3 separate regions of the Homo sapiens genome follow, and all the other regions are linked to region 3. The links are contacts of gene promoters, found by promoter capture Hi-C in blood cells and fetal thymus (Javierre and others, 2016). All regions are on one chromosome and are shown on one strand. The core of a region is centred on a gene start or on the middle of the fragment in contact, and the rest is flanking DNA. Distances in the headings are between cores, read along the strand shown. Region 1 overlaps SKIC3 (SKI3 subunit of superkiller complex). Region 2 overlaps ARSK (arylsulfatase family member K). Region 3 holds the start of MCTP1 (multiple C2 and transmembrane domain containing 1).

What was found. Contacts are between HindIII fragments. The CHiCAGO score rates a contact against its expected background, and 5 or more counts as called.
Region 1: a fragment that was not itself captured here is called in contact with the fragment with the promoter of MCTP1 in region 3 in 1 of 17 cell types (megakaryocytes); the score reaches 8.5 in megakaryocytes.
Region 2: a fragment that was not itself captured here is called in contact with the fragment with the promoter of MCTP1 in region 3 in 1 of 17 cell types (megakaryocytes); the score reaches 6.2 in megakaryocytes.

Annotation. Positions count from the first base shown.
Region 1 is chr5:95,543,969-95,546,725 of GRCh38, reverse strand. All of the region lies in intron 4 of SKIC3 (SKI3 subunit of superkiller complex), which reads left to right. Among named protein-coding and RNA genes, the nearest start is that of SKIC3, 9.6 kb to the left of the region's middle. The HindIII fragment of the contact is 2,091 bases long and covers 247-2,337 here.
Region 2 is chr5:95,560,558-95,563,574 of GRCh38, reverse strand. All of the region lies in intron 1 of ARSK (arylsulfatase family member K), which reads right to left. Among named protein-coding and RNA genes, the nearest start is that of ARSK, 7.0 kb to the right of the region's middle. The HindIII fragment of the contact is 2,864 bases long and covers 274-3,017 here.
Region 3 is chr5:95,283,562-95,286,485 of GRCh38, reverse strand. It overlaps MCTP1 (multiple C2 and transmembrane domain containing 1), which reads left to right and starts at 1,392. Exons shown (of 23, transcript NM_024717.7): 1 at 1,392-2,630. The coding sequence starts at 1,911. RefSeq lists silencers at 2,044-2,103, 2,184-2,303. The HindIII fragment of the contact is 7,244 bases long and covers 1-2,868 here.

The DNA.
Region 1 (2,757 bases), core at 43-2,542, 260 kb before region 3:
GGATGAGAGGACCAAGATTATAAAGCTTATTTTTATGCTGATGGGTATGATTCCATTCAGAGGGAGAAATTGGACTCGGGGGAGAGACAGAGGGTAGTGGTAGGAGTGAAGTCATCAGTAGGTGAGAGACACACTGGGATCCAGAGCTTGAGGGAGCCCTTTAATCCTTCTTCCATCTTAGCAGGAGAGAAGATAGGTGCCCATCCATACAGTGTTGGGCTTATAGATTTGGTGTTGGGAAAAGCTTTCTTCTCTAATGGCTTCTATTTTCTTGGCAAAGTATAAGATGAGACTGGGAGAAGACTTGGTTATTGGTTAGGAGGTTTGAGATAGCAGAAGGTATGAAATAGTTTCTTTCTTTGTTTTTTTTTTTGTTTTTTTTTTTTCTCATGGTGGGAAAAGAAACTTGCTAGTAAGGATTGGAAAGATTAGCAGGCCCTAGTGATTGCCCATTTGAAGTTTCAAGCTATTAAAGTGAAATTAGTGAACTCCGCTGTAGTTTTTCTCTTTGTATTCAGTTTCTCAGGTTTGGAGATGGGCATGATGGGGTTCAAGTATGGATGGAGAGAAAGAAGAAAGGAAAGACATGCAAAGGAAAGACATGACAAGGGAGTGATGACAGTGGTGAGCCCTGGAGTCTAAGCTGGGTAAAGAGGAATGAGAAATGAGAGGTGGGCTGATAGGCAATGGAAAAAGCGTTTAGGATAGAAAAAATTAGAGAAACCAAAGGTTAAAGATTTGTTACCATGGGACCACTACAGTAATTGAACTGGGACGGTTAGAGAGGAGCAGAATAGTACTGTGCTGGAAATTCAGATTTTGGATGGGTGAGTAGTGTGGTGGTCACATAACTGAGAGGCCAGAGTGTTCAACGGGATATCAACATGAATACAGGCACTGAGGTGGAAAAGAAGGATACAGAATTTTCACTGAAGGAAAGGGGAATTAGGAAGGTGGTAGACTGTAGCAACAAGAAGGCTATTTTTAGTAGTATAGTTGGATGGCCTGAGCTTCAAAGGTAGTGGGGTTGCTGAAGGAGGAAGGAGCAGTAGAGGACTGTAGGTGACAGACAGTGTGAGCAAGAAGCAGTTTCTCACCTTCTAGGCCTGTGGCATGTGAGCTGTAAAAGAAGTCATCTGCAATCTGTAGGATGTATAGGGGAATTAGCCATGTTTTCATTGAGGCAGAACTTGGTGTGGTTAAAAGAAAGGTTAAAAATATGGAAGGAACTTGGCTGACCCAGATTGGGAGTTCCAGAGGGCACAATGAAGAATTTAGGAGAGTGGTAGGGAGGGAATTGGGCAAGACTGGGCAGTATACATGGCAATATGAGGATGAGTCTAAGGAGTAAACAGGTAAAGGATACCCTTGTGAGGTTTAGGTTTCTGGTGGTGACTGATGGAGCCCAGCAGGGATGCAAGGACGTGATAGTATTAATCTTGATATAGAAGAAGGTGGGCAGTGTGTTCCAAGTGGGGACAGGTTGTGGATGGAATACAAGAAGGGAAGAAGGACTGTTTCCTTCAGCACTAGGTTTATCTAATTGATGCACGTTTCAGTTATATACAGCACCACCATAGCTGTCTTCTTCCTGTAGACTTTCTGCAAAATTCAGATATTAATTCCACCAAATAGTTAATAATTTATACTAGAGAGACCCAATTAGAAAATGCAAATGGATAGCTAATCAGTTATAAATGCCTGATTACTAATGTGTAGTAACCCAGAATATTGGTTGAGACTAAATGAATTTTTGAGTAAAGGAATGTTGCATTTGCTGTGGTTTTGTCTGATCATCACCTTGTCTGCCTGTGGCGCTTTATCACATGGTATGAGTATCCCTTCAGGGAAGCCTTCTCCAGTTTATGCAGAGTTCGGTACTTTTTTCTCTATGTTCTTTCAGAATCTCATACCTGCCTTCACCACATTGTTGATAATCATTTTCTTAAACATCCATTTTGGATTCTGAAAACCTGGTCATCAGGCAGATAGTCAGTACTTAACTAATTGCTGGTTGAGTATGGCATTTTGTTCAGCTGTTAAGTGCCAGCCATTGTACCTGGTGTTGGGAACATAAGCATTAATAAGGCCCCAGTGTTTAGAGCTTAACTTTGGTAGTTACATCATTGTTGTGGTTTGTTAGGAGGCAGCATTATTATGTTGAAGTCAAAATAAATAATTTTATTTTGGGAAACAAGAATTGCAATTTGGGGCATACACACACAGGCTAAGTGGTCTTTTGTATGTCTGAAGAACAAAGAGAAGATTGGCCATTTTATTGGAAAGAAAAATGTTATGTATTATTTTGAAAGAAAGCTCACTGGTACTAGAGAAGCTTTTGGGAGCTGGCAGGCTCTGATTGGTGAGTGACGATGGTAGGTAAAACTAGACTTAGAGTCATGGCAGCTACTGGGGAAAACTGGTCTTAGGGTTACAGCAGGCCCTCTCAGCAGCCGGGCTTTTGGAAAATTTAAATCTTGGAGCAGGTGCTATGAGGCCTGAGTGCCTTTTCCCCCTGGTGCTCCCTTTACTCTGACTTAGGTGACAAGAATGACCCAATTTGTGTAATCAGTGTGTTCACAGATAGAATGGAGCTTGTACTGCATATTAGGGACAGATTATTAGGAGTGTTGTGTGGAAACACTCAAGTCTAATAATATGACTCGCTTAACTCATGGAAATGTTCTTATTTTCTCTGGAATAATGTAAAACCTTAAGAGGCTAATTTCATTTTGGCTACTGGTTTTGTTTTTCTTT
Region 2 (3,017 bases), core at 456-2,955, 280 kb before region 3:
AAGCAGGCTGGAAAGCAGGACTCTTTGAAATATAGTGGCAGAGATAACCAGAAAGGGAGGGGGCGACTGCCGTCATGTGGGAAAGTTCCCAACGATTCCATCAGTGAAAGGTGATCTATGTTAAGATTGCTGTCTGAGATATATATAAGGCAGTGAGCGGTATGCAAATATTCAGTGAATGAAATGAAATGAATCTCTAATCCAGAGATTTGTTCAATTTAAAAAAGAAGACAAATTTATGCTCAAAATTCAACAGTGTATTTTTGCAAAGCTTAATAAACTGGATTAAGCATATCAATTGCAAAATTTGGTTCCTAGGAAATATTTAAATTATGATATACATATTCTCAATATCAGAAATATCAATAATACTCTAAACGAAGACCAAAATGTTATTAGAGAAAATATTTAAAAATTTTCTAGAAGTTTTGGTTTTTGACTTCATGTAGTTTTTACACACTAACAAATCATTTAAAAACTAGGCTACTACTAGTACTGCTGATAATGGTATCAATGGGAGACGGTCAGTAGAATATTTCATTCTGAACTGAAAGGCATCTTAACACAGCTGGCTGATGAAAAAGAGAGAAAGTAAGTTTTCCATAGTATGTTAATGTGGTTTACAATGGATAGCCAGTTATAAGTGAAAACACAGTTCTGTCAAATTTAGTTGGCAGAGAAAATCTTGAAAAATGGCTTTTGTTATAACTTCTATAACTTACTAATAGCCCATTTCAATTTTCTCAAGGCCATTCCTATGGTTCAAACAAATTAAGCACTCTAAAATTGGGCATTTAAGAAATAAAAATGACCCATTAATTGGCTTTCTGCAAAAGTTACAGAAATGGTACCAACTGCCTTTAGTTGCTGCATTCTGCTCTTGTTAATTAATTCTCATGGGTCCACACATTTTTCCCCCTTGGGGTGGGTAAGTCTTTTTGTAGATACAATTTTGTGATTTTGATTGCTCCTTCTGAACCATGGCTTGTACTCGGTTCCTTATCATTATGGGCCATGCAGAATCAGAGAAGTTTAGGTTTGAATTAATCATCCTAATAAAAGAATGTAACAGCAACTTTAATTTGCCATGTCAGCATGGCAAGACTGCTTATAGTGTTCTTCCCAGATCTGTCCATCAGACTGAATGAGATTCTCACTAGACTCTCTAGTAAACACTCCTGTACCTACTCTCCCCTGCCACTCCTGAAACCTCAGCAAAACTAAAACTGATACAGGTGCAGTGGCAGGGAGTAGAGGTAGGAGTAGGAGTGGGGATGCAGAAGATGCCTCTGTCCTTTAAGACCCAGGCAGAGATGCTTCTTTTCTATTATTTATTTAATTTTAAATTTTTATTTATTTTTTTTGAGACAGAGACTCACCCTGTCACCAAGGCTGGAGTCCAGTGGCACAATCTCGGTTCACTGCAACCTCTGTATTCTAGGTTTAAGCGATTCTCCTGACTCAGCCTCCCGAGTAGCTGGGCAGGTGCCCACCACCATGCCTGGCTAATTTTTGTATTCTTAGTAGAGATGGGGTTTCACCATGTTGGCCAGGCTGGTCTCGAACTTCTGACCTCAGGTGATCTGCTCGCCGTGGCTTCCCAAAGTGCTGGTATTACAGGTGTGAACCACCGTGCCTAGCCTGTTTTCTGTTCTTTTAAAAATGGGTTTATTAAGATATAATTAACACACTAAACAACTCATCCATTTAAAGTGTACAATTCAATGGTTTTTAGTGTATTCAGAAAGCTGTGCAACCATTACCATAGTCGATTTTAGAATGTTCTCATCATCCCCAAAAGACATTCTGCACTCTTTAGCCATTACTCTCTATTTTCCTGAAGCCTAGGCAACCACTAACCTACTTTCCGGCTCTATGTTTGCTTTTTCTGGACATTTCATATGAATGGAATCATACAATATGTGGTCCTTTTTGACTAGCTTCTTTCATTTAGCATAATCTTTTTAAGTTTCATCTATATTGTAGCATATACCATATTTTTTATTGTTGAATAATATTACCAAATTTTATTTATCCATTTATCAATTGATGGGCATTTGGGTTGTTTATACTGTTTGGCCATTATGTATAATGAACATTATAATGCTATGAACATTCATGTAGAAGTTTTTGTGTAGACTTATATTTTCATTTCCCTTGAATATACACCTAGGAGTAAAACTGCTGGATTATACAGCAACTCTATGGTTAACCATTCGAGAAACTGCCAAACTGATTTCCAATGGCTGCGTGATCCTACCAGCAGGGTATGGGTTGCAATTCCTCCACATTGTTGCCATCTCTAGTTATTGTCTTTTTCATTATAACCATCCCAGTGGGTATAACTGGTGTCTCACTGTGGTTTTGATTTACATTTCCCGAATGATTAATGATGTTGAGCATCTTTTCATGTATTTATTTGTCATCTGCGTATCTTCTATGAAGAAATGTCTATTAAGATCTTTTGGCCGGGCATGGTGGTTCATGCCGGTAATCCCAGCACTTTGGGAGGCCTAGGCGGGTATATCCCAAGGTCAGGAGATCGAGACCATCCTGGCTAATACGGTGAAACCCCATCTCTACTAAAAATAAAAATTAAAAAATTATCTGGGTGTGGTGGCGGGCACCTGTAGTCCCAGCTACTCAGGAGACTGAGGCAGGAGAATGGCTTGAACCTGGGAGGCAGAAGTTGCAGTAAGCCGAGATTGCGCCACTGCACTCCGGCCTGGGTGACAGAGCGAGACTCCATTTCAAAAAAAAAAAAAAAAAAAAGATCTTTTGCCCATCTTTTAATTGCCTAATCCACAATCACAAAGACTTACACCTATGTTTTCTTGTAAGAGTTTTTTAGTTTTACATTTGATTAATCAATCAATTTACTTAAAGTTTTTTTTTGTGTGTTTGTGTATGGTGCAAGGCAGGGTCCAACTTCATTCATATTTTTTTTTTCCAGCACCATTTGTTTAAAAGATCATTCTTTCCCTATTAAATGGTCTTGGCACCCTTGTTAAAAAATC
Region 3 (2,924 bases), core at 143-2,642:
TTCCTTCTACCTGAAATTCTACAGTCAGATCCGTCAATAGCTGGTTCTCTGTCCTCATTAAGTCTTAACTCAAAATTTTATCTTCTCAGAGAGACTCTCCCTGTACACATAATGTAAAAAACCAAAAACCTCTCCATATGGGGCTGCCAGATTTAGCAAACAAAAACATGACACCCAGTTAAATTTAAATTTCAGATAAATAATAGTATTTTAGTATAAGTATGTCCCATGCAATATTTGGGACATACATATACTAATATTATTCATTGTTTCTCTGAAAGTCAGTTTAATTGGGTGTCCTGCATTTTGTCTGGAAGCTCTTCCTCTGTAGCCACTCTGTTATGTGGTACCCTGCTTAACTGTTTCCATGGGACTTTTGCATATTAGAAATTCTGTTTATTGTCTCGCATCACCTCCCAACCCTCACCCTCACAATAAGCTCCATGTGGGTGGGACCCTGATGCCCTGTTCACAGCTGCATCCCCAGAGCCTATCACAGTGCCTGGTATATAGTAGGTGCTTAATAAATATTTGTTATAAAGGTAACAAAAACAAAACAAAACAAAAAACTTAGGTTGGTAACACCTCCAAAGCATACTGCTAGCTAGACAAGACTGATCAGTGTGCTACCGCAGCTTAGGGAACTCTCCCGTTTTCCCCATTTAGGAGGACGAAAGAGGCATTGTGTTGCTGGCCTTTCAGAAGTCTCTCCTAGCAGAATCAGAAGACCCTGGCTGAGCAGCTTTGGGAGAAGCAAAGTCTGAATGAGCTAAAAAGCCTTTTCCGTTTGCCTTGCAACAAGCAAATGAAGTAACCAAAGAAAAAATGCGCTTGAATGAAAAGAACAAGATTCTGTGCGTGCCGAATCGGATCAAAGGCAGTGCGCATCACCCATCTTCGTCCACCGTAAACTCCCTGCAACTTAAGGGCTGGCTTTATCGTCAGACTCCGGAAATGCTAGAACCTGATCATAAGAGACCAGTGCAGAGGCAAATAAAGAAAAGGGAGGGGTGGATGGGGATGAAGTCAAGACAGAAGAAATTAAACTCTCGTCTTGGACCCAGGGAGCGCAACGGGGCGGGGGCAGACGTCTTCAGCTTTAGAACTCCGTCGGGTTCATCGCTCAGTGTGGACGATCGGCGCCCCCACGAGACCCATCGAGGGCACATAGTTTCCACTCCAGCTCGCTTCATCCGACCCAGACGATCGCCAGCGCGGCCAGCGGCCAGCGCACAGCGAGCTGCCTGGGCAACTGTGGCCGGATCCTAGGGAGCAAGCTGGCTTCGGGCCCTACCTAGCTCCACCCGGCTCCTACCGGCCCTCCCACCTAGGAGCTGGAGGATGGTCCCGGGGCGCCCCAGGGGGACTGCTGGTCCCCGGAGTCTCCAGCCAGACGCGCCTTGTTGTGTGAGCCGCGTGCGCGCCCAATTTGGAGGCAGCCGCCCCCGCCGCTGACAGGTGCTGCCCAGAGGGCGCCGGGTGCGGTCCCTGGCGCAGCTGGACGCGCACGCCCCGGTGCGTGCAGCTTCCCGAGCTCGGTCAGAGAGAAGAGGGAGCCAGGGCGCGGCCTGGGGGACGCCAGTGGACTGGAGCCGCGGAGCTTCGAGGGAAAAACTTTGCAGGCGCCGCGGCCGGGATTCGGTTACGGCTCCAGCCCACCCCAGCAGGTGCGGGAGGAAGAGGCAGCGCCGGAGTCCCGAGGCCAGAGAGCCTCGGCGGCGGCGGCCGCTTCTTTCCCCCGAGCTGGCCTGAAGTCGCTGGGCACTCCCGGTTTCTGCTGCTGCGCCCGCCGCCGCCGCCGCCGCCACCGCCAGCGCCGCGGGGACCCGGGAGGAGGTGCAGCCGAAGAGGGAGGAGAAGCAGGAGGAGGAGGAGGAGGAGGAGGGGAGAGGAGGAGCAGGGGGTGGAGGATGGAGCCCCGGGCTGCCGCGGCGGGCGAGCCAGAGCCGCCGGCGGCGTCCTCCTCCTTCCAGGCCCGGCTCTGGAAGAACCTGCAGCTGGGGGTGGGCAGGAGCAAGGGCGGCGGGGGCGGGCGCGCTGGGGGTCCAGAGCGCCGCACTGCGGACACCCCGTCGCCCTCCCCGCCACCCCCGGTGGGCACAGGGAATGCACCGGCCAGGGGGAGTGGTGCAGGCAGCAGGTGGAGCGGCTTCAAGAAGCGGAAGCAAGTGCTGGACCGAGTCTTCTCCTCCTCGCAGCCCAACCTGTGCTGCTCGTCGCCGGAGCCCCTGGAGCCCGGCGGCGCCGGCAGAGCCGAGCAGGGGTCCACGCTACGCCGCCGGATCCGCGAGCATTTGCTCCCCGCCGTAAAGGGGCCCGCGGCGGCCTCGGGAGCAGCGGGAGGGACGCCTCCTGGCGGACGCTCCCCCGACTCAGCTCCTTCCTCTTCCTCCGCCTCATCCTCCCTGTCCTCCTCGCCCCAGCCTCCCCCGAGGGGGGACCGCGCCCGAGATGAGGGTGCACGGCGTCAGGGCCCCGGGGCGCACTTGTGCCACCAGAAGAGCTCCTCTCTGCCGGGCACCGCCTGCCTGGAGCAGCTGCTGGAGCCGCCGCCTCCTCCCGCAGAGCCGGCGCGGAGTCCCGCGGAGTCTCGGGCCCCGGAGACGGGCGAGGAGCACGGCAGCAGCCAGGTGAGTGCCGGTGGCGCGGCCGGAGACAAGGTGCGCGGGACCACGCCTCCCTCTTCAGGCGTTCACCACCCGGGGAGCGGGGGGCGGGGGCCGGGAGGCGGGAGGAGAAATGCTATTAATTCTAAGTAGATGAAACAGTCGAAAGAAAACATCTCGCTCTGGTTTAGCAAAGATGAAAGAGTTCTGACTTGCACCCGGACTTTACTTTTGGTAGAAATGATACCTGTCACCAGAAGCTTTCTGAGTAGTCAATGAAAAGTTAGACCTAAAGTGGGTACTTTTTAGAGTTCTCCT